Linked DNA regions of Homo sapiens: regions 1, 3 and 4 are each linked to region 2. The links are contacts of gene promoters, found by promoter capture Hi-C in human tissues and cell types (Jung and others, 2019). All regions are on one chromosome and are shown on one strand. The core of a region is centred on a gene start or on the middle of the fragment in contact, and the rest is flanking DNA. Distances in the headings are between cores, read along the strand shown.

The links. Contacts are between HindIII fragments. The study calls those that stand out against the background at their distance.
Region 1: a fragment that was not itself captured here is called in contact with the fragment with the promoter of IZUMO3 in region 2 in 3 of the 25 tissues and cell types used here (H1 embryonic stem cells, bladder and spleen).
Region 3: a contact is called between a fragment that was not itself captured here and the fragment with the promoter of IZUMO3 in region 2, in 6 of the 25 tissues and cell types used here (H1 embryonic stem cells, dorsolateral prefrontal cortex, lymphoblastoid cells and 3 more).
Region 4: a fragment that was not itself captured here is called in contact with the fragment with the promoter of IZUMO3 in region 2 in 5 of the 25 tissues and cell types used here (H1 embryonic stem cells, aorta, dorsolateral prefrontal cortex and 2 more).

The regions. Positions count from the first base shown.
Region 1 is chr9:24,491,259-24,497,967 of GRCh38, reverse strand. No RefSeq gene overlaps it. Among named protein-coding and RNA genes, the nearest start is that of IZUMO3, 51 kb to the left of the region's middle. The HindIII fragment of the contact is 4,435 bases long and covers 1,616-6,050 here.
Region 2 is chr9:24,544,117-24,550,998 of GRCh38, reverse strand. IZUMO3 (IZUMO family member 3) reads left to right here and starts at 5,102. Exons shown (of 7, transcript NM_001365008.2): 1 at 5,102-5,575; 2 at 5,713-5,787; 3 at 5,938-6,027; 4 at 6,239-6,256; 5 at 6,718-6,798. The coding sequence starts at 5,350. RefSeq lists an enhancer at 5,453-6,652. The HindIII fragment of the contact is 4,602 bases long and covers 1,172-5,773 here.
Region 3 is chr9:24,578,479-24,584,685 of GRCh38, reverse strand. No RefSeq gene overlaps it. Among named protein-coding and RNA genes, the nearest start is that of IZUMO3, 36 kb to the right of the region's middle. RefSeq lists an enhancer at 4,402-5,029. The HindIII fragment of the contact is 6,530 bases long and covers 301-6,207 here.
Region 4 is chr9:24,598,976-24,605,267 of GRCh38, reverse strand. No RefSeq gene overlaps it. Among named protein-coding and RNA genes, the nearest start is that of IZUMO3, 56 kb to the right of the region's middle. The HindIII fragment of the contact is 5,377 bases long and covers 1,273-6,292 here.

The DNA.
Region 1 (6,709 bases), core at 2,584-5,083, 52 kb after region 2:
CTATAAAATTCCTTATAACACAACTACAGTAGGTCCTTTGTAAAGACGTATCCTGAAGAAAATTCTTTGCAAACATTCTCCAAATGCAAATACAGGGCATCTTTGCATTTGAAAAGAGCCAAGATTTTAGCAGCTCCAGTATGAAAACAACTATATACACTAGCAAATTGAAAGAGAAACAGCCAGGGAAAAACAAACTCAGAAGATGAAACCGTGTGTGGCAAATGACAAACCTGTGGGCTTCAAAAATTAAATATTTGACAATTGCAAACAGGCAGAATGACTCTCTTTAATAGCACTTTATGTCTGATACAAAATATTGACCAACACTTAGCTGAGTGAAGAACTAGATTAAATATTTGTTGGATGAATAAATGAATTAAACAACAATTCAGTAGGAATTTGTGAAGACCAATAGGGGTTTAAGGAGTGCATAGGCCAGGCATGGTGGCTCACACCTGTAATCCCAGCACTTTGGGAGGCTGAGGCAGGTGGACTGCCTGAGGTCAGGAGTTTGAGACCAGTCTGGCCAACATGGTGAAACCCCATGTCTACTAAAAATACAAAAAAATTAGCTAGGTATGGTGGCAGTGCCTGTAATCCCAGCTACTCAGGAGGCTGAGGCAGGGTAATTGCTTGAACCAGGAAATTGGAGATTGCAGTGAGCTGAGATCATGCCACTGCACTCCAGCCTGGGTGATAGAGCAAGACTCCATCTCAAATTAAAAAAAAAAAAAAAAAAAGTGCATCAAGGAATTATGCAAAGCTGCACACAGTGATTCACACCTGTAATCCTACCACTTTGGGAGGCTGAGGTGGGAAGATGGCTTGAGCCTAGGAGTTCGAATCAAGCCTGGGAAACACAGTACAACTCCATCTCTACAAAAGAAATACAAAACAACTAGCTGGACGCAATGGTACATGCCTATAGTTCCGTCTGAGGCAGGAGGATTGATTAAGAATAGGAGGTGGAGGCTGAAGATGAAGAGAGCCATAGTTTTGCCACTGCATTCCAGCCTGGTTAACAGAGCAAGACGCTGTCTCAAAAAAAAAAAAAAAAAAGATAAAGAAAAATTAATAATGAAAATTCAAAAATATATATTACAGAGCTACCACTGCCACTTTTCTCTAAATTACTGTCACCATGACCTGGTGGCTAACATTAAACACACATTCTTTTTCCTTCCTGCATACATACTTATGCTTAACCAATTATCTAAATAATATATATTTAATAATATATTTGTTCCATAGTGTGGGATCTCTTTTTAATAAATTCTCACATCACCTTTATAAATGTACAAGACAAAATTATTCTTTAGGTTATTATTAAAGTACTTGTGAATGGGTAAGCTTGTAGACATTTGCTGTAAAAATTGGGTGAACCAGAAATTTTGATCTAGTCTGACTGCAAAGGGAAGGGGGAATTTGCCCTACACCAGCAAAATGGTCTGAGGACTAACTTTGAAAAACCTGCTTAATAGCAAGGGCAATCCATTTAGATGTCTCCCCTTTTAAACTTACAGACTCCTCAAATATTATTATTTAGCCAAAATACAAGTAAAATGGTTTAAAGATGAATTTAATTTCAAGTTTTTGTCATGCTAACATGAAGGTACAATTGGTCAATAAAGCAAATACTAGAATGTAAAATCACATCGCTTTGGTGAGGAATTGTGAGTATTCCACCTTTATGCAAAAGAAATTTACATTCTTCTTTCATCTCTCATTGTGATATCATTCCTACCCGTTTGTATGATGAGATACGAGGCACTCCTGGTGAGAAGGCATAGACAGGAAGTACTGGGTAGTTAGAACATAATATTTAAGATCATTTTCTTCTGGTAGGCTTGAGTTGCAGTTTGGCCATTCCAAGCTTTGTAATTTAATATTTCTTCTTTGTAAAAGAGGTATAGCATTAATTACAAGAGGAAGAATGTAAAATATTTAGCAAAGTACTAATAAAGGTTAGCTAAAAATACATTCACCATCCACCATGTACCACAATTAGTAGTAATAATAAGGCTTCTTATTCTATATAAATCATTGTGGCAGTTAATTTGTAACGAAGAGAGAGATGAATGCAACCTATAAACTTCTATTCATAAAAAGGCAATGATGATCATGGAACGTAAAGTAGGCTTTTCTGAACTCAAAATTTAAGAAGAGATTAACATTAAATGCAGAAAAGAGGATTTGGCTGGACAATAAAGATTTAGTATGTTTTTACTAAAAAAAAAAAAAAAAAAAAAAGTTGAAATAGCCAGTGTCAAGAATCTTCTAAGTCTCACTTCAGGAATTCCACAGGGTACAGTCAATTTTTTTAAAAAGGAGGAGTTTATCAAACGAAACTGAAGTGCCTCATTCCCATGTAATGATACCTCACCACCCACCTCATCCTTGCAACCGTTATATTAGGCTTTATTTATTGAGTTTTTTTGAAACTCAATAAATATTGAATACTTACAATTTCCAAATACTCTGCTGTTAACTGGGGATACAACAGAGAAACACATCTCTGCCTTTGTGTGAGCCTGTCTAGCAAGCAAGTATACAAAGGATTATCAAAATACTACAAATAATGACAAGTAGAAATATAAGCATTTAGGTTGGTGAGACAAGAATGGATGGGATTGGAAGAGAGCAAGGGACTATATAAGATGACTAAAGAAGTCCTGAAAAAATTCTGTCTACTTTCACGTTGAGAACTCAGAGAGAAGAATCTAGCAAAAAAAAATAAGATCAAGGAGAACACAGCATTCCAGGGTAAGGTCTGCAGTTAGGAAAGGGCAAGGGCAAAAGAAAAGATAATCATAGAAGTATCAATACAAATAGGCAGATTCAAGACATATGCTAGAGATAGAATCCATAGAATTTATGTTTTACTGGGAGAGTTAGGGAAAAAGAATGAGCAAGGATGCTTCATATAATTTTGATTTGATTAATGAGTAATTGTAGTGATACTACCGATATGAGAAACAGCGAGAGGGATAGTTTCAGGGAGGTAAAAGTTTAGCACTCATTTTGGACCCATACAATTTTATATGCTTGTTAGTGGAGATATCAGGTTGAATGCTGACTATGAGTCTGGAACTCATGGGAAAGCTCTGGGCTACTGATACACAGTTCAGGTTTATCATCATTTAAATAGTATTTAAAACCATGTGATGGATGAAAGCTCCTAATGAACAAGACTGAACAGAAATGAAGATCTGGGACTGAACCCTAGAAGAAGCCAACCATTAAAGAATGTGCAGAGGAGGAATAGCCAACAAAGAAGAGGAAGAAATGCTTGGTGTAAGCAAAAATCCAGGAGAAGAGAATTCACTGGTGACTAAGAGTCCTCTCTAGGACTTTTGCTTTGTTTCTATGGTTTAGATTTTCAGGTTCATTTTTCCATTCCGCAGAATTCCAAAATAGTCTCTTTTGTTATTGCTATCCTTTGGCAGTCTATTTAAGTTCTCTGAATTCTAAGTTCTTCATCTATAAAGTGGGAGGCAAATTTGCGTGGCTGTGAAGATTAAAATATATTAATATATGAAAAGTACTTAACACTGGAGTGTCTAGAATATAAGCACTCAGTAAATTATAGACGTGGTTATTTAAATTTCTGTTATTTCTCAAAACTTCTACCAACTAGTCCAAACTTGAGCACTGTCACAGAAAAAAAAATGCTAATCTTATGACAGTATAAAATAATCTACTCAAAGGATCAAGAAGTTATACATCAAAGTGTTATATATAAAAGAATATTGATTATATAAGAGTTATATATAAAAGAATATTGGTTATATAAAGAATATTGTGGGGCAGTTACTTATGGCTCATGCATAAACCTATTAAAATATTTCCTAAACAAAGGACCGACAAAAAAAGGAGGAGGTGGAATAGCAGAAGCACAAGAACAAATAATTTTACATCAATTTTGCTAGGAAACTAGGACTTTGTCTCAAAATTATAAGTGAAAATCTTTCTCTAATTTTTTGTGCAAAAAAAAGTACTAATTCGGAAAAGATATAAAAGTTTTACCTTTGAAACTCTATATAAAATAATTTTTAAAAGGTATGGCATAAGTGGCAATATAATAGAGACTGTAGAAAGACAGTACTCAAAGATTATGACCATTACTGGCACACATGAATTTATCACAGAATTTCAGGTTTTAAAGGAAGACTTTGGCAAGAGTTATCAATGTAATTCCATTAAAACATGTGACTTTGTGACACAGGGCTTATTGATTATTGTGTTTAAGAAGGAACAGGGCAAGACTTCAGAAATTGAAAGCTCTTAACACTATTGAATTCAGACCATAAAATATTTGTGGGGATTTTATTGCAAAGACAAACGGTTGTATCCAACAGAACGATATGTGGAATCTAAATTCTGTGCAATAAGAGAATAATAGCTGACTGCCTAATCTCCTGTATAGAATTAGTAGGACACACTAGAAGGGTAAGATGGATTGGTTTCCTCATAAGTCTACATTAGGAAAATGCTTTTGACTATATACAACATTCTATATGTTCAGTGATGATGTACACAAACGAGCATCCATTCTAATGTGTTAGATATATGAGAATAATATGGTTAGCAAATAAAAATAGGTGAAGTTGACAGGACAAGAAATAAATAGCATGTCTGTGACAGATGCAAGTGCATAGCTGTGAGTTTCCACTGTTTACAATGGCAATAGATGGAGACAGATAAATTTTAACTATGGATAATCCTTAAATGATTATGGAATACCACTAGTAAAGACATTAAATTCTTGAAATTCTTGATGGGCATTTGGTGGCCATTATTCTCATCGCATTGTAGAAACTTTGTTGTTGTTGTTGTTTGTTGTTGTTGTTGTTTTGAGACGGTATTTCACTCTTGTTGCCCAAACTGGAGTGAAATGGGGCAATATCGGCTCACTGCAACCTCTGCCTCCCGGGTTCCAGCAATTCTCCTGCCTCAGCCTCCCAAGTAGCTGGGATGACAGGGGCTCGCCACCATGCCTGGCTAATTTTTTGTATTCTTAGTAGAGATGGTTTGTTTATTTATTTATTTATTTATTTATTTATTTATTTATTTTATTTTTGAGGCGGAATCTCACTCTGTGCCCAGGCTGGAGTGCAGTGGTGTGATCTCGGCTCACTGCAAGCTTCGCCTCCTGGGTTCACGCCATTTTCCTGCCTCAGCCTCCTGAGTAAATGGGACTATAAGCACCTGCCACAACACCCGACTTATTTTTGTATTTTTAGTAGAGAGAGGGTTTCACCATGTTGGCCAGGCTGGTCTTGAACTCCTGATCTCAAGTGATCCACCCACCTAGGCCTTCCAAAGTGCTGGGATTACAGGCGTGAGCCACCACACCCAGCTTGAGAAGTTCTTTATAACCTCAATTGCCTACCCAGAGGTAGGTTATCAATCATTAATAGTATTTTTCTAAATGCTGGATGACTAACAGTCTAGAGGACAACGGTGAACACTGGCCTATAGTGGAAATTCCAATGTTTTTCTATATTTACAAGGGTCTTGGAAATTACAGTGTCCTCGCTCCATCTTTGGATTTTGGTCAGAGGTCCTAAAAGAGGACATACCTCACAGATTGCTTTTAAGTAAGAACTTTAATAGTTGCATTAAGGAATCCCAGATCTAGATCCCGGCATGGAACACAGCAAAGTATTACCAGGGTCCAGGATTCGGAGACACATCTGAACCCAGAGAAGAAAACTTGGGCAAGAATAGTCTGTTAGCCCAACTCATTCCAACTCTAAATCACGAGTCCACTTAATGAATGTTTACTAAACATCTAATATATGTCATATGCTTTGCTAAAAACTCAAGACAAAATGGTGAACAATACAGTTGTTATCTATAGTTTAATTCTAGTATTGTGAACGACACTGACACACAATGACAAATGCTCAGTACAATGTAACATGTTCAATGGTAGAGGTGATCGGAGTGTTTTGGATGCATATGGGTAAAGGTATTAGCCTACTTTTGTTGGTCAGAGAAGACTTTTCTCATGTACAAAATATCTAGGCTGAAAGCAAAAGGTTAAGGAGTGAATCAGACAAGACAAGTGAAGCAGAGAGAAGAATATTCCAGGCAGAGAGGGTAGCACGTGCAAAAACCTGAAAGTGAGAAAGAGCAGGCATAGAAAGAGAATTTGAGCTAGTTAAGTATGGCTTAAGCATAGTCCCTGAAAAGCCAAGAAACTCCTCCAAATTCAAGTGAGAGATAATTGATTTATATATATATACATATATATATATATGTATATGATAATTTGAGAGCCTAAGGTTCTTACATGCATTTACAATACTTAAAAATAGGTGCTGTCAATATTTTCCTATATGCCACCACAGGGTTTACGTCCTAACAATATACTCCAAAGTCAACTAAAACACAGGTCAGACAGCTATTCCAGAAATAGCTGTATATTTCTGGAAAAATGCAAAGCCATCACTCTCATTCACTCACAATGCACTAAAATGGTCATTTCTTAAAAGAAATTCTTACCATCAATTATCCTACTTTCTTGCATCATATTTGCACAGTTCAGAGTATATACAGAGGAGAAGAATTGAGAAGGGGCCAGAGATGGTATGACAAACGATAACAGGAACAGCTTACATCAAGGTAGGTATAAAATGTAAATGTTGCACAATAAACCTCTGTGAACCACTTCTAATCACTAGAATCAGCAGGTTTATGT
Region 2 (6,882 bases), core at 3,853-6,352:
GGTTGAATTACAGACTCCATAATTTTTAAATAATTGAATGAAAAGAACACAACATCTTTCTATTTTTTTCAAATATAATTTCATAAGAGTACCTATTCTTGCTACTCTGAGGCAATGATGATGTGACCTTGGATTAACTCTCTTCAGAAAAGAAATTTTGGTGTTTTAGAAAGAACATGGATTTGAAGGCAGACAAATTTGTGTTACAACCCCCAAATCTTTATCCGACTAAGTGTGTGACCTTGGACAAGTCCTTTAATGGCTCCAAACATCAGGCTTGTATTTTATAAAATGGAAATAGTCATGCAAGCTTGTCTTGAGAATAAAATATGACATTTATGTTGCAAGGTCACACATTTTTTCACACTGCTCTCAGATACACGAAAGAGACATAGCTTCCTCATAGTCTATTGGTCTTAGCTTTCTCTGAACATCTTTTCACCTCCTTGGGTAAAAAATAAAAAGCAATATTAGCATAATATAATAAGCCTAATCTCACCAAATAATTTAAACACTTTTTTTAGATAACTCCATTTCTTTTGGAAGAATCATTCTTTCACATTTTTCCTCTTGTTTCTTTCCAAACAGGATGTAAGAATGGGGAGGTAGGAGCTGATGTTACCTCATGGCACTGTGTGGTTGAGGGGTCATTGTCTTGGATGTGTCTCATGTAGAAGAAAGTTTTTCACTTACAGTAGCGTTTGCCTACAACATATCAAAACTGTTATGTTTCATGCCAGCTAGCTTTAACCTCCCGAAATTGTTAAGAAACTATGAAGTCTGAGTAACTCTGGGACCCTAGACCTTCTTGAGCCAGGTTAAAACAAATTCATAATCACCAAAATCCAGGCTTGTTTTAACCAACTACAAGTCCAGTCATGGACTCAATCCTTCCTATCTAGCGTGTGAAAATGTAGTAAATATAACCACCATGGACTCCCTCTCCTTCTAGAGAGGGGTTTAAAAACTCCTGATTTTTTATCCTCTCAGTAAATTGTGCAGTAAATTTCTCCACTAACGTGTGTTTTAGTTTTTGACAGTGTGTTGGTATCTTCCAAGGTGAAGATGTAACTTTACCTAATACCATTCCTAAATCTATTTATAGTATTTGTTGAGAAACTCTGCACATGGGGCACTTTCAACCTGTTTTCTCTCAGTTGCATCAGTAACTGGTGGTCTTTCCTAATGATTTGGCCCAACAAGGCCCTGACGCTTGCTGCAGACTCCACTTCCTTTCCTGACCCTGGTACCAGGTCTGCTCTCCGGCTGTTACACAGGGTCCCTTTACCTGAAGCCTTGGTGATATGCCAGCAAAGGTGCCAGTCAGATCCTGAGTTGAGTTGTACATCCTTCCCCAGCACCCAGTGAAAGCATCTTAAGACATTCCATGCCACATAGGAACTGACATCGTCTCACGAGCCCTTTCTATTAACCTATTCTGTAAAAGCCCTTAAAGGGAACAGGGCAAAAGCTCATGGAATATGAGGATTTAACTCAACATTTCTAGTATAGAGAGAAAATAAGCTGTGACACATATCTTCTGCTTCCGCTACCCTCCTCCCCTCATTCTTCCCACAATCGCCTTGATGTGTTTAGCTTTTTAGTTCATTTCCTGTTAAAGATTCATTGTAAATCTTCTAGTCTACCCTATAATTTACCCACCCTTATGACTATTCCTAAAGGATAAGTGAAATATGAGGAAATAAATTAGCTTAATGACAATGGAATATAAATGGGGAGGTATATAGAAAATTAAACTTATTCTACATGTGGAATGTCTGGTATATAGTAATTATTTCAAATACGATTATTACACTACCTAGAAATATAGCTTATAACATGGCCAAATGTCAAGTAATGGCTTCTTGATCTCAGATTACAGTCAGGAATGTAGTTAACTGCATGTGACTATAAAAGGTATCTAAATTATTTGCCAAACTTTTAAGGAATCCTGTGAAGTGATAGGTAGGGATGGGTAATAGAGCAGAGCTCAATGGCATAAATAATCCATCAGAAAAATGGCTGTAAGAAGCTTGAGGATAAGGATTCATTATTTTTGTTAATAAATCTGAGAAATCAGATCTACCATGGGATGAGGGAGAATTTCTGTAAAAATCTTGCTCTTTATGAAACTTGTTCTTCAAATTTCAAACCTCAGTACCTTATGTGATTTGTAACAAAGGCCAAATGGTACCAAACAACTGATTCTAGCCCTTAAAGGAGGGACTCTCTAATTGCTAGTGTTTTAGTATAAAAACAACTACCCATGAATATCTATGTTACAACTACAAATGAGTCATTATGTAGTTGGTAAAAATATTATGAATGTATGTGCCATTATTTGTCTCATACTATTTTAAACAGAGTTTAGCTAGCTAGTCTGCAGATTTGTGCTGACTATAAATCATAGCTCTTCCTGCCAAGCCAAACCATATACTAACTTAATTATTCTAGGGTTTGGGTGTTAGCCTTTTGCTTTCCAGACACAGGCATTATTATTTTAATTAAGTAATGTGATCATTACATTATTAATCAATTTCCAGACAGCTCTTCTTTCCCAAAGCTCAAATATTTTACATTTACGAAATTCAAAGTGCTATCCCATGATAATTGTGGTTATTTTCTTATGTTATACATTTCACCATCAGTACTTTTAGAGTGTTCCCCCTAAAGGTTCCTGAACACTATTGGATTCTCACTCATCATGATATATTAATTACTGTCTCTAATCTCCTGGATCCAGCCTTTCTATAAAAATTTCTCTAAACTTAGCTAGTACTGCTCTGTTTTCTCATAAACCTCGATGTGTACCTCTGGGTTTACCATTAGCACATTGTGTTATCTTTCTACTGTTTACTCCATGAGACTGAGATTTCCTTCCTTGTTATTCCTTTTACATGGGATATATGTATTCTTTCAATTACAAGTTCTATCTGTCTTAATAAGTGACTTGCCTTTTTCCAGCCTTTCTAAGACTATCCAAAAGCCATTTTTTTTCTCTCATTCTAAAAACCTGATTGAAATTTAAGCTGGAAGGGTGAGACAATGATAAAAATGATAGATGGACCTCTAAGTCTGGGTTAAAGTAATGTGCCATTGAATTATTCAGTAATGTGTCAGAGGATACTCTTTGAACTGTCTAAGTGAAGGTATGGATCATTGACTGGAAAATATCTATAATGCATATCTTTTCTTGAAGCACAGTTTGTTCTCATACCTTGCCACTTCTCTGCCAAATTTTTTAGCCCCTTTAGTTTTCAACTTTACTATCTAGAGTTAATTTAATCCCATTAGCTCACTTGCCTTCAGACCTCAGCATGTGAAAATCTTTTGGGAAATCCTCTAAAAATGAGATCATCTAGCCAAGGGAATAAAAAAAAAATCTGAGCAGAGATATGCTAATTTAAACCATAAATCAAGTAATCTGTATTGGCCTTCATATTTTGACTTATCAAATTCCAAGAGATAATTTTCTGTGTTATCCCAGCAAGTTGTTGTTGAGAGGCAGTAAAATGTATAGGGTTTGGAACCACACAAGACATGAGCTTGAACCCTGAACTCATACTCTAAATTATTCTTCCAGCGAGGATTCTTTTACATCTCTGAGTCTCAATTTCTTACCAGTAACATAGAAATGACAATCTCCAAAGGATTGCGCGCCATGAGAATTTGTGACTACCTGAAATGTTTAGCACAATGTCTGTCACATGGACTTGGTAGACGTATAAGTAATGGTAATTCTTTTAACTTCCCGCACAACATTCCACTGTGATCACCCCATATCTTAAATATAAATTCTACCACTAACCCTGTAGATTGCCAGTGTTTCCTGGTTTCCAGAAGGTCACAGCCATACAGGCAATGTATTAGAAAAGAGGTAACCAGTGCTCTTAAGAGTCTGAAAAGCAACCTCAATTTATTCAAATAACACAGAATATTTTTATTCAAAGGGCCATTGAAAGGAGAACATGTTTATTTGGACATCTTCCTTGTAGGTGGTCTGAGAGGGAAGCCCATGATAACCACTATGTTTTTATATGTTACATACTTTGCCAGTATTTTAGAATGCACTTGTTAAAGGATCTGAACTTTATTGGATTCATCACTCAGTATTCCTCAACTATTGTTTCTAGTATCTGACTCCACACTCTCTATAAGAAGAATGCTATAAAAAGATTAGAAATCACCAGGCACAGTGGCTCATGCCTGTAATCCCAGCACTTTGGGAGGCCGAGGCGGGTGAATCACCTGAGGTCGGGAGTTCAAGACCAGCTTGACCAACATGGAGAAACCTCATCTCTACTAAAAATACAAAATAAGCCAGGCATGATGGCACATGCCTGTAATCCCAGCTACTCAGGAGGCTGATGCAGGAGAAACACTGGAACCCGGGAGCGGAGGTTGAAGTGAGCTGAGATCATGCCATTGCACTCCAGCCCGGGCAACAAGAGTGAAATCCCATCTCGAAAGAAGAAAAGAAAAGAAAAAAAAGAAAAGAAAAGAAAAGAAAAGAAAAGAAAAGAAAAGAAAAGAAAAGAAAAGAAAAGAAAAGGAGAAAGAAAGAAGGAAGGAAGGAAGGAAGGAAGGAAGGAAGGAAGGAAGGAAGGAAGGAAGGAAGGAAGGAAGGAAGGGAAAGAAAAGAGAAGAAAGCAAGAAGAAAAGGAAAAGATTACAAGTCATGTCTAGAAAATCATCCTAGTGATAAATGTAGCCTGAAATATGTTACTGTCTATTAAAATTGCCAAATATTATTCTAGATAAATGCTCACTCCTTTATTCTCAACAATACTGCCACCAGTATTTGTCAACAATACTGCCCCAGTAGGGACCGAGACCCGCAAGAAACTCAATATTCTTGGCTTTTCTTACCTCTAATGTAGAAGCAGAGTTTGAGTTAAGCAATCTCTCAGGTTCTATAGGATCACTTCCATAACCCATCTCTGATGATAAACATCTCTGAAGGTCAGGAGGGGGTTTAAGAGTCTCATGAGGATGCAAGTCAGGGAGAGGGCTAAAGAAACACTTTTTCTGAGACATCTCCCTGCACAGAACTCTGCTTGTGTGAGCTCAAGGCTTCTCTATCTCTTGGTGTTCTACACTCAGAACTCAGGTATCCGCTCCCCAGCTGGCAGTTCCCTCTCCTAGAATGAAGGATAATAGTCAGTAAACAACTAAAGATCATTAAACTAAACAACTAAAGATTGCCCGATAGTGGGATGGAAACAGCGGGAAAAGTGGAGTCAGACTATCCAGAACCAGGCTCTCATTCCCGGATTTTTGAAGGAAAAGGAACTAAGTGAACTAGTTGCCAGGACAACCTGCTGTCGGGGAGCGGGGGTGAAGAAAGAAATGGGTGACCTGTGGTTATTCCTGCTCCTGCCCCTCTCAGCCTTCCATGGAGTCAAAGGCTGTTTAGAATGTGACCCCAAATTTATAGAGGATGTTGGCTCCTTGCTGGGAAATCTGATACCTTCAGAAGTCCCCGGCCGAACTCAGCTGCTTGAACGGCAGATTAAGGAGATGATTCATTTAAGCTTCAAGGTCTCCCACAGTGACAAGAGGCTTCGGGTGTTGGGTGAGGGAAGCTTGAGTTCCTGAGAGTCCAGGGGCTTAAACGGAGAAGGGAGGCAAGGAAGAGAACACCTGGGTCTACATAACTTCCTGCATAGATGTAATTATTCCCCTACATGTACCTTTACTCTCCCTCTCTAGCTGTTCAGCAGGTTGTTAAGTTGAGAACATGGTTGAAGAATGAATTTTATAAACTGGGCAATGAAACATGGAAAGGTGAGGTACTGTTTCAATGTTAAAAGTTTGTATTGCTCAAGCAAGCCTCAGAAAATTTGGCTGGGGAAAACAAAGATAAAAACAGACATAATTAACTTCTGAAGGGAAGAGCTACTTCTATTTTTTGACACCCCTTCCACTCCCTCTTAGGTGTCTTTATCTATCAAGGCAAGCTTCTCGATGTCTGCCAAAACCTGGAATCCAAACTGAAAGAATTACTAAAGAACTTCTCTGAAATTGGTAAGTAAAACTTTCTATATAACAGCACTGAAGTTATATGAAGGGAATAGAAAATGCGGGATGAGGGAAGAAATGCAAGTTCATAATAGAGTTATTTAGAATGGGTGGAGAGGTAACTGGAACTTAAAGGGTAAACAAAGACTACTTGGGTATAAATATGGCAAACTGTAGCTGGTTTTAAACTCATTAGAACTTTCTGATTCTCTTCTAGCTTGTTCTGAAGATTGCAGTGAGTACAGTACATGTGACGCCTTGAGGTTTCAGCCCATATTTTCCCATCTCCTTTGCTCTATATGGCCCTATCTCTCCCACCTGTTACACTGGGAAACCAATTCCTAGAGCTGTGGTTACAAGGGGTAACGTCAACAATACCTGATAACGAAACCTAGCTCATGAAATCTCAGACACCCCACATATTTTTGAGGTACTAGGAGGCCTTCTAACATATGGTTTACAACCCATTGCCCCAGTATAAGCTGAGGCATCCTTTTCCCGCTTTTTCCTGGAGATCAGACTTACAGATTTTGATCCATCAAGAAACTTGATTTCTAGGAGAAGAAGAAATTCACAGCAATGCAAACTTGAGAGTCCTGGGAATGCTTGAGATCAAATCCTCCACACTTGATGTATGACTAAGGAACCCTCGTGCCATGCCCTCTTTCTGATTATCTTTCTTCTCCTCTTTATCAGTTGTGGTTGAAGGTCCCATTCTTGATTGTTGGACGTGTCTTCGCATGACTAACAGGTGCTTCAAAGGAGAATATTGTGGAGGTAACAAAGATCATGGTATGGAATTTTGAAGGGACAGGGATTAAGGAGCAGGGTTGCTCACTGATTTATTCTACATGTATTTGT
Region 3 (6,207 bases), core at 2,316-4,815, 35 kb before region 2:
TAAACAACCATGAAACAAGATATTCATAATAATGAGAATTTTCTAATTCCTACTGAGACACACAAAACAGAATTTGAAACTCTAATTCATACATAATATGCTTTCTTTGGCATAACTAACATAAAAAAACTTAATGTCCTTTTTATACAGATCTTCAGCAATAAGAAACATCTTCCACTTCAAGCCACATCATTATTAATTCTGTGCTGTGTTGTGAGATTACGCAGATTTGGCATCATGGATTCTATTATGACTTATAACATCTTTTCCATCTATATTTGGCTGTATAATTTTAACAGGATATATCAAACAAGAAATTTCCCTCTCCTCCAAAGAGCTTTTATTTCTCTTTAATAGAGTGGCACCTACTATTTCAACAAAATTACTCTCACTTTTAAATGAGGTAACTGAGTTTAACAGTGGTTAAGAGGCTTGTTCAATGCCATTAATTGACGGAAATTTCAGCCCCTTGACCTATAAATTAGTGTGCTTGCCAGAGTGTTAATTAAAGGTGATGAGAAGATAGTAAACATTTAATCAGATAATTAAAATTTGCTAGAGGTTTTGAGGATCTATTTTACCTTTTGAAATTAAAAAAAAAATGAGGTAGGCATTATTAACTTTTAATCTCTAGACAAAGAAAATAAAACTTTAAAAAGTTTACCAAAAGTAATATATGTAAGTTTTTATATTATAAAAGAGAAAAATCAGCATTTAAACTATGGTTTCAGTGAATAAAAAGTTTAATTTCTTCTAATGATTTATGTCAATGAAAATGTAAACTAATTTTAAAAAGGAAGAGTCTATACATTTCAAAACTATATAAATGGCGATGAATTTTTGAGAATATACTGTTTACATGCATTAACATTTTAAACTTATACACACATCACATAAACTATATAAATAGTGCCACAATGCACACTCCGTGGTAGACTTGCATATCCCTGCACCAGTTAACTGCTACATTTAAAAGAGCAAATACACAAGATTTCACCCTAAAACAATACTATTTACTGGCTACAAAAATATGAATTTTCATTAAAATTTTAATCTAATTTGACTAGCAACTACCAAAATTTTTTCCTTGCACTAGACATTCTACCAAGCCATGGGGAAATAAATATGAATAGGAATTACAGGTAAGCAGAGGTATATAAGCAGTGGGATAAGAACGACTTAAAGTACTCTGGGAGTACAATGGTACTGGGCTCCCAAGTGGAGGGGAGATCCAAGACACACTTTAAAGCTGGTAACAGATTTTCCATATCGAGTGGATGGAGTGGTCCTTTCAACAGAGGAGACCACATGAGCAAAGATGTGGATGCCTGCATGGGGACAGTATGCTCTGGGTGATGCTCAAGTGGCCAGGCTCATCAAACATGCAAGAAGGGAGCCTATAAGACTTCCCCTCACTGCCTGCCTTAAACTGTGGTCTGAAATATATGCTAATAAAAGTCAAGAAAATTATGAAAGCAGAATATGGGCTTTAACTATATGCTTCATTCTTCTCAATTATCTTAAACTTATATTTCAAATTCAACCTTTACCTATATGCCCAATCAAAAGCAAGAATGGGAGAAATTACTTATCTTCTTTAATTAACAGTTTTCATCCCGTAGCAGACTGTTTTTCATAATTCCTAAATTCTCCTCTCTTCCTGACATTTGATAGTCACTTATTGTTCTTAGAAGTTGATCAGTTACAGCGGTCGTCTATTTACTTCCGTCCTCCAACTCTTACTTTAAATTGCACAATGACACTGAGTAAATAAACTTTTCCTCAGCTTCTATTCTCATAGTTTCAGCTCTCCTCTCTTCTGTTTTTGATAGATCTGAAGTTATTTTGAGTCCTATGCAGTTCTCTTTCCTTTATCCTCTTTTGAGTTTACTTTGGAGAATAAATCACAGTTTCTCATGCCTTACGGCACTGTGTCATTATAAAATATTTCATACCTGATGACCTTTGAGCATTTCTTATTCAAAGATTCATGAAAGCTTAGCATGAGGTACATCTAATGATCCCTGTGTAAACATACTGAAAGCTCCCTCCTACAAAGGCACAGGCAGGTGGAAGACATATTTTCGACACTCTGTCTTCAATCTAAGCATCACTGGCAGTGCCTGACAGGTCTCATTTGCTAAATAAAGTACAATGTGTCAATCTGAAATAAATGTAAATTATCACCTTTCTTCCATGTTAATTAAGGTCTGATTAATGCAATACAAGCAGTTGTTGAGAGTACAGTAAAAGAATGGCTTTTGTTGCAAAAGCAAAGCAAAATTCCTCAAATATAAATCATTGTCTGCCTCATCCATTGAACTTTGGGTTAGAAAGGTTATTTGGAATGATTTGTTCTGTTGGAACATGGACAGATGTTCACATCTCAGCCTCTTAATAAATGAATCCCAAGGAGCAGATAGCAAAAGGCACTGATGCTTTAAAGGTAAGAATTAGTAGTGGAATGACCTAGACTTATCATAAATCATAAAAGGCTAAATTCTAGGCTTAGTTTTATTAAAAAAAATCTAAGAGGTGTAACTCAAAAATTATGCATGTTATTTATGCATAGGATAAAGTTGAGGAATATTTTATTAAGCTAAATCATGAATTTTTACCTGGGCCCCCTTTTTCTAGAACTTTAAGAAATGATCTATGGGTGAATATGAAAGGGCTACTGAGTAGAAATTAATAGAAGCAAATTTTAGAATGAATATCACTAACTGAGAAAACCTAATTCATTATACTTTCAAACTCCATTTGGTTAGTTGTATAATCCAAAGTAGCTCACAATGCATAGAGAAAGTGTTCTCTGAGTCATGGAAATTTTAGAAAATAAACAGGAATGCAAAAAATTACCTAACTCAATTTTCTGAGACTACAAAAGATAACAATTATGTTTATAAAAAGTACAGATAGTTAATGGCATAGTCAGGTATGTGATATGTGCTTCCAGGCTCACAAGCATAGTTTTCTAATTTATTTGTAATTTTGCTGTCCTTTTTTTCATAGATTTTCTTATATATGATGATTGTCTAAAATAACACTGTTGGAGAACTATGGGACCCTTCTCACATTTCAGCAAAATATGTTAATATATTAATAGATCATTTCTTTAAACATGAAGTTTTAAATGCAGTAGTTAATGGGTTTCTTCATTTGTTAATATTGTTTTCTGGGCTAGAAATCTAAATTTTTACACCAAAATACTATTATTTATAATTTCACATAGATATAATTCCTGGGAACTATGATAATATAATTATGATTATGAAAATAGCAGAGTCAGATCTATATTAACTCAAAACTGGTAGAACAAGTGGTCTCTCCTCAATTACAATTTATCATGCATTTGCAGAATGAGAAGCTATGCAATTTATTCACTCATTCCTTCATTCAACAAACAGGGCTGTAATATTAGAATAATGAAAAAGGTTCTAAAGTTGTAGAAAAAAATCAGTTGCAATGTTAGACATTCTTTAAGGTACAAATGTTATCACACTCCATAGCAATATTGAACTGACCTTTAACACGTTCCTTGTGTGCTTTCGCTTAAAACAGTCAGAGGTAGTGAACACAAGAAATAGTTATCACAGGTTACACGGAAATACAAGTATACAATGACAGTGACCTTATAATAAATCCTCCATTTAATTTGGTTGCCTTTTGTTAGGAGCATAGATATAAGATGCAAATAGTGGTCACAGATTCAAAATTTGTTAAACTTTGAAACTGACTCTTCTTTTATAATGGTACGAGGCTCGATGTGTTAAAAAGTTGATGAGTGTCTTTAGAGTGTCTATTAATAATGGTGTTTCGAATTATAGTGATTTTACCCAATGAAACTGAAAATCCTTTAACTCAATTGGAGTGACTACCAAACTATGTTTTCAATGACTCAGAGAATGATGGCCAAGAAAATTAATCCTATGCTTACAGTTAAGAATTACCTGAAAAATACCAGCCATCCCATTACTGGGTATATACCCAAAGGATTATAAATCACGCTGCTATAAAGACACATGCACATGTATGTTTATTGAGGCACTATTCACAAAAGCAAAGACTTGGAACCAACCCAAATGTCCATCAATGATAGACTGGATTAAGAAAATGTGACAGGGAGGAGCCAAGATGGCCAAATAGGAACAGCTCCGGTCTACACCTCCCAGCGTGAGCAACGCAGAAGATGGGTGATTTCTGCATTTCCTTCTGAGGTACCGGGTTTATCTCACTAGGGAGTGCCAGACAGTGGGTGCAGGCCAGTGGGTGCGCGCACCGTGCGCGAGCCGAAGCAGGGCGAGGCATTGCCGCACTTGGGAAGCGCAAGGGGTCAGGGAGTTCCCTTTCCGAGTCAAAGAAAGGGGTGACGGACGCACCTGGAAAATCGGGTCACTCCCACCCGAATATTGCGCTTTTCAGACCGGCTTAAAAAACCGCGAACCACGAGATTATATCCCACACCTGCCTCGGAGGGTCCTACACCCACGGAATCTCTCTGACTGCTAGCACAGCAGTCTGAGATCAAACTGCAAGGCAGCAGCGAGGCTGGGGGAGGGGCGCCAGCCATTGCCCAGGCTTGCTTAGGTAAACAAAGCAGCCAGGAAGCTCGAACTGCCTGGAGCCCACAACAGCTCAAGGAGGCCTGCCTGCCTCTGTAGGCTTCACCTCTGGGGGCAGGGCACAGACAAACAAAAAGACAGCAGTAACCTCTGCAGACTTAAGTGTCCCTGTCTGACAGCTTTGAAGAGAGCAGTGGTTCTCCCAGCACGCAGCTGGAGATCTGAGAACTTGCAGACTGCCTCCTCAAGTGGATCCCTGACCCGTGACCCCCGAGCAGCCTAACTGGGAGGCACCCCCCAGCAGGGGCACACTGACACCTCACATGGCAGGGTATTCCAACAGACCTGCAGCTGAGGGTCCTGTCTGTTAGAAGGAAAACTAACAAATAGAAAGGACATCCACACCAAAAACCCATCTGTACATCATCATCATCAAAGACCAAAAGTAGATAAAACCACAAAGATGGGGAAAAAACAGAACAGAAAAACTGGAAACTCTAAAACGCAGAGCGCCTCTCCTCCTCCAAAGGAACGCAGTTCCTCACCAGCAACGGAACAAAGCTGGATGGAGAATGACTTTGACGAGCTCAGAGAAGAAGGCTTCAGATGATCAAATTACTCTGAGCTACGGGAGGACATTCAAACCAAAGGCAAAGAAGTTGAAAACTTTGAAAAAAATTTAGAAGAATGTATAACTAGAATAACCAATACAGAGAAGTGCTTAAAGGAGCTGATGGAGCTGAAAACCAAGGCTCGAGAACTACGTGAAGAATGCAGAAGCCTCAGGAGCCCATGCGATCAACTGGAAGAAAGGGTATCAGCAATGGAAGATGAAATGAATGAAATGAAGCGAGAAGGGAAGGTTAGAGAAAAAAGAATAAAAAGAAATGAGCAAAGCCTCCAAGAAATATGGGACTATGTGAAAAGACCAAATCTACGTCTGATTGGTGTACCTGAAAGTGATGGGGAGAATGGAACCAACTTGGAAAACACTCTGCAGGATATTATCCAGGAGAACTTCCCCAATCTAGCAGGGCAGGCCAACGTTCAGATTCAGGAAATACAGAGAACGCCACAAAGATACTCCTCGAGAAGAGCAACTCCAAGACACATAATTGTCAGATTCACCAAAGTTGAAATGAAGGAAAAAATGTTAAGGGCAGCCAGAGAGAAAGGTCGGGTTACCCTCAAAGGTAAGCCCATCAGACTTACAGCGGATCTCTCAGCAGAAACCCTAAAGCCAGAAGAGAGTGGGGGCCAATATTCAACATTCTTAAAGAAAAGAATTTTCAACCCAGAATTTCATATCCAGACAAACTAAGCTTCATAAGTGAAGGAGAAATAAAATACTTTACAGACAAGCAGATGCTGAGAGATTTTGTCACCACCAGGCCTGCCTTACAAGAGCTACTGAAGGAAGCACTAAACATGGAAAGGAACAACCGGTACCAGCCGCTGCAAAATCATGCCAAAATGTAAAGACCATCAAGACTAGGAAGAAACTGCATCAACTAACGAGCAAAATCACCAGCTAACATCATAATGACAGGATCAAATTCACACATAACAATATTAACTTTAAATGTAAATGGACTAAATTCTCCAATTAAAAGACACAGACTGGCAAACTGGATAAAGAGTCAAG
Region 4 (6,292 bases), core at 2,712-5,211, 55 kb before region 2:
CACTTTTCTCAGTCTACAAGTTGGCAAACTGGGATATCATTGTGAAATGAAAAAAACTCTGTCTAAAAATTAATAGTAATACAAGAATATACCACCCTAGCCCCCACTTACATTTAATAAGGAATATACATAGATAATTTCAATTTTCTTCTCATTTAGTTTTGCTTCCCCCCAACAGACAGGAAATGTGTACTAAATAAAAGATTTTTGATGCTGACAGAAACTTTTACATAAAAAACTATTTTTTGAAGTGTTTAATGAAAATCTTACAAGAGTTTGTAAAGGTTTCATTTTTCATTTACTGAACAAAATGTCTTGAAGCCATTGACATAATGGCTTAAAGAACTTCATTAAAAATATCAAACTATGTACATCAATATAGTAAGATCCTCGAATGTTCTTTAAAAGTTTTCTTGAATTTTCAAGGTTTTCATGATTTTCCACTTGATGTTTCAGTTAAAGAGAAATGGAAATAAAAGGAAAACAGACTTTAATTGTGCATTCATTCAATATCCTGAGAGGTCCTGGTGTTCTTTCCTTCTTAGGTTGATTGATTTTCTGAGTCTCTGTGGTTACCTCACTTCAGTAGTCTTTTGTTATACTAAATGTTCATTTCTTCCCTTTGCATAAGTTATAGGAAAACTATTTTTACCTCCTCTATACACTGATTAATACTAAAGCCCACTAGAGAAAAAATAAAACAAATAGCTGTGTTAGAAAAAAATTAAAGGACTAAGACTTTTTTGGCTTACAATTTTTCATTTATTAAAATTTTAATTTTGGGAGAGAAATCCATATATCAATAGCTTTCCCTCCCAAAACCAAAACACAGTTCCCTTTGATATGGTTTCAGTATTAAGATTAAGGTTAAGGTGGCACTGGAAAAGGATGAGGTAAAAATTAATTTCCCACTTTAAATCAGTTAAAGTGTCCACCTGTGACTCAAATAAACAATTGGAACAAAAAGAATGTTTCTATCCCAAAAGAAGAGATTCTTTAAGGACAAAGTAAGGACTAACACAGATAAGAAAATGAGATCAATCAGTCCATTAACACAGAATGGAGCACGTGAAATAATGTGCCACAGTGAATGTGCCACAAGGGAACAGAGGGGAAGACCTCTCTGTTAACACAGAATAGAGCAAGCAACTAGACACCAGAAATACATTGAGATGAACAGAAATGAGATAGAACATGTCCCTATTCCTAACCTTAACCATACACAAAACCCTAATCATAATTCCTTACACACTAACCCCTCATTCTAACCTCTACAGAAATGCCAGCTTCCTGAATGGGAACAATGATTTCCCAAACAGATGTCAGACATTAGCCACTGGCCTTAGCTGCCATCAATATTAATCAGCTAATCTTAACATTAGCAAAACATATGCATCTTAAGGATGAACTCTTACTACAATTGTGTAGAGGACAATTATTAGCAAATTCAAATATTTAGGATGATGTCAGCACATCTATTGTCAACTACAATCTTTTTTTTTTTAAATAACAGATATCTCTCACTGGTTTAACGGGGATATTATTGTCACTTAGAGTTTATATGCTTGAATTTCCTAAATACATGGTAATGACACATGAAGCATGAACAAGGACTTTCTTAAGCTATTAACTATCTTTTATTATCAAGAGGATCTCAGTTAGAAATTTACTAATGGTTATTACTTAGGTATAGGCATTTCTAAAAACTGTATGTATGTATGCATGCATGAATAAGAGTATGTTTGTATGCATGAAATGTGTTGATCACCTGTATGTTATTTGGATTTTTCTATTCTTTTGTTAATGAAAAATTAACTACACATAAAACTTCTGATTTTTTTCATAAAATTAGCTTACTTAAAAAAACCATTTGAGACACAAAAATAGGAAATCTTATTTTTCTTAATTTTACATAAAATGGCCTGAATTCTGCCTTTCTTATGTTCTATCATGTATGAGTCTACAACTGAGGTGCCTGTCAAACTCTGAAAATTTGGGGCTTTTCCTTTTATCATACATTACCACATATATCTCCATGGACAATTAGGCATTTACAAGCACTTTTGTGGTTAGTGCCGTTAAGGGCAACAATAATCATAGTAAATTATTTCCTCTCATGATGGAACATGACTCAGATCCTGATGCAATTCGCAGACAAATGCCTTAGTATCTGGACTAAAGGAATAGACCTTGGCATGTGGAAGTTCAAAATGTAATACAATCACAAACAATTGCATTTATTCACACAACAAATACGTAATGAATGCCTACTATGTACTACACACTACATTAGGTTCTGAGGATACATCATTTAGAGGATACACAAAGCTCCTGCAATTATAGGACTTAGAGTCTACAGACAGAGTACAAGGAAAACAAAGTGTGCCCCTGATATGTATCATATTGAATGGCAGGTCTACATACTTGAGCATCTGTATCCATTAGGAATAATATCTTGAAAAGGCTACTGCAGGAGGAGAGTGAATAAAGGTCGTATCATGGAAAACTAGAAAGGAGAAAGGGGCTAACAGTCCAGAATGGAAGGACAGATACACAGAAGATGATGGTAAATTAATGTACATTAATGGCAACTTTTCCAGGAACAGAGAAATTTGCTGAAATCAGAACAAGTTTTTGGAATGAAATGAAGATCAAGTTATAAGACAAAGGACAGAGTGAGAAGGCTTGGGGGTTCTGTGCCACAGTGAAGTTCTGGGCCTCCCATGGTGTTCGCTTATGCTAAAAATGCAGCCCCAATTACCAGAGTGATAATTGAGAACCAGTTTTATCCATAAGCATTACAAGAGTCATTAAGAATGGCCATAGTCACAGGGTGTTAGCCATACTAATTTCGGTTCTATGTATACAGCAAAAGCTAATAGGCAAACTATAGTGTCTTCTACGTCCTTGCACCTAAGTAGAATTTTTAGAAGTGAATTAGACACATCATGGCTTCGGCATTGCTTTTCATAAAAATAGGACTTCTGTTCTCTTTCTTTCATAGATGCGATTTGATTTCAAGCTGAATTGTATAGATGGAAATAGAAAGGGAATATCTGGATTTCCCAGGTAATAAGAAAGCATGGGTGTTTGTAATACTGTAGCAATTTATTATATACATGTAAATATATTTTCTATAGCCAAGGAATTTTCATTTTAAACCTATATGTTATACACACACACACACACACACACACACACACACACACACGTATATATGTACTTTTACTCTCAAACTAGTGACCTTCTCTGGAGGAAAATACTTAGGAAGGGTATGATTTATCTGAAGAATATTTGCCTGCTCATATAAATGTTTTGATATACAAACACATACTAATAAACACATGCCTATAATCACAGATTTTATAAGTCATGCTGGGTTATATGGACATTAGTTTAAAGGCCTAAACCAAATTAGGATTTAGAATTTCCTTAAAAACAATAGAGAGTTAAGTAATGTAACTTACCTTTTCTGATACATGCACGTTCATCATAGCAATATTCTCATATGTGCCAGATTAAAAATGCTGAGAAATTCTAATCTTACTAAAAGAATATTTAGATCTGTCTCTGCTTTATGCATTCTTTACCAAAGTATTTCACAATCACACGTGTGTTTTTCAAGAACACAAGGTACAAGGCTACTGGACAGTATATTTGTTCAAATAGAAGCTAACTATCTTTTAAGAATTAAGTGGATCATATTTTACATACCAGGTGATATGGAGCATAACCTCTCAATTTACCACGACAAAACACCACAAATATTTGAAAAAGAAAAATTATTTGTTTGACCTTCCATTTTTTTCAAAATAAAGAGAAGAATCACTTCATAATACTTCACAATGGCCCAGGAATGTGATCCATATATCTTTGAACTAGAGAAGGATGTTTTCCCTGGAAAAAAATTAAGTGTAAAGAGTGCCTGCAAAATATGTTAACTAAGAGCAAGGCTAATCGGACTGAATTTTTTAATAGTAATTATCTGTCTGTCCATGCCACTGTGCTGGGTAAAAATAATGGTCTGGCCTGCTTTCCACAACATCTCTGCATTTTCTCCTTTGAATTGGAAATCCGTGGACTCTGTCAAACAGATATCTAAATATTACATATTTCTTTTTGAAGCATTCATTCAACACGTATTAAATAAGTGCTAACTATGTGCCTGGCACTGTGCTAGATCATGGGTATAGAACTGTAAATAAGGTAGCTACACATCCGCTCTTCATGAAGATTATAGTTCAGCTAACACAGTTAACAAATTATACCTCTACTTGAACACGGGTGCTCATTTACCCCTCCCAATTCCTCTCAACTCCCACCCTTGAATTCACTAAAGTGATGATAAATTATTATAAACCCAAGGATAGAAAACAAGAGAACAGAAAATAGCAAGCAAGTTATTTCTGGTTGTTAGAAGGCAGAAAGCATGTGGGAAGACATGATTACAGGCTTAACAATCAAGGAAATAATAATATAAATGCCTTGCAGGGCAAAGGACAGCTAAGGCACTCTCCTCCTCCTCTTTGAGAAAATTGAGCTGGGGACACCCCAGACTCATACTCAGTTGACGGCATAATTGAGGAATAGAGCTGAAAATAGAGAAAGAAATTGAACAACTACATGTTGAACTGAAACATGTTAATGGATCTTTCTCTAACCTATTCCCAGAATCCTCGCAGCCAGGCATAAATTCTCGTCAATAATACCTGATCTGACCAACACATACCCAGGAGTTGGCCTGGAAGATTCCTTGACAAGAAACTAAGTGACACTAGGGAATTTAAAAAAAAAAAAAAGAAAAAGAAAAAAACAGACTCCTATTAATTTTGAGTGTTCTCAAACAAAACCCTAAGTTAACAACCTGCTCTCCTATAGCAAAGCTTCACTGCTACCAAGATGATATCGTCCAAATAAGCCCTCCAGTAAGAAAAATAACCAACTTATGAAAAAGGGGATCCCACAATAAATAAGCAAAAAATGGTGTAAAGAAACCCTCAAAACAAAAAGTAGAAAAAAAGTAAATATATAGATACTGTAGATAGATCCTCATTATTCTCAGAAAGAAGAGAGAAAATGCCCGTTGTGAGATGAAAATGCAGTTGTAAAATGAAAATATGACTTTATAAGAAACGTTCAAAGAAGAACCAGGAATGCTGAGAATTTAGGGATAAAACTGTCTATTATTTTTAATTAATTGGCAATTTTAGAAGATAAAGTCAAGGGAATATTCCAGAAATACTGATTCCAGAAATAGTGATTCCAGAAATATTCCAGAAATATGAAAGAAAAGATAACTCAATCTAGAATGTTTAACATCTAGATTATAGGAGTTCTAGGAAGAGCAAATAAAACATAATTGGGTGATCATGAAGAAAATATAATAGCAATATATGAAAATTCTGGGAGATAAGAATTTGTATCTCTAGAATAAAACGGCCAATCATGAAGTCAGCACAATAAATGAGAAAAGGTCCTTCACAGTGTTGATCATTGCAAAATTCAGAGAAATCATTTGAAGGGAATTCTCTAAAATGTTCCATAAGGGGAAAAATTGTAAGCTCTTAAACAAATGAACACTCTGAGAGAAAATTATTCTTTCCCAGGCTTTCTATTATTTAGCTACTTTCACACTGTTACACTACATGATAATTCAGTGGCTTATATAAACAAGCATATATTTTTCACCCATGCTCCTGCAGATTATCTGTGGTTAAGCTTCTACATGCTAGGCTCAGCTAGGTTTGCCTCAGATGTCTCTCATTTTTGAGATGACAACACTACCTAAGGCTTTTTTCTTTCTTACTTTCGTTGTCACTGTTGTTGTTGTTGTTGTTGAAGGGGAAAACATAAGAGAAACTCATCCTGCAAGCAAGTATAAATCATTTGCTTGAGTTCCATCTATTAAAACAGCATTGGCCCAAGCAAAGAACATTACCAAACCCCTCACCAGTAAAACAGGGAAGTGAACTCCACTTCTAGTAGAAAGAATTGCAGTTACACGACAAGCAAACAAACAAACAAAAACCCCAAAAGGCTTGGATACAAGTAGGCATGGGGGGTTTTAGGCAATAGCGCAATTTATCATACTAGCTAAACTAGAAAGACATGGAAGCTCTCAAAATCTTATGTCCCTTGTGCCCTGGAATAGTTTTTAAAGTGTATTGCCCAAATCAGCAGCAGCACCTGAGAATTTGTTGAAAAGGCAAATTCACTCTCCTCACCCCAGATACACTGAATCAGAAACTGGGGTTAAAACCTAGTAAACTGTTTTAAAAAGATATCCATGTGA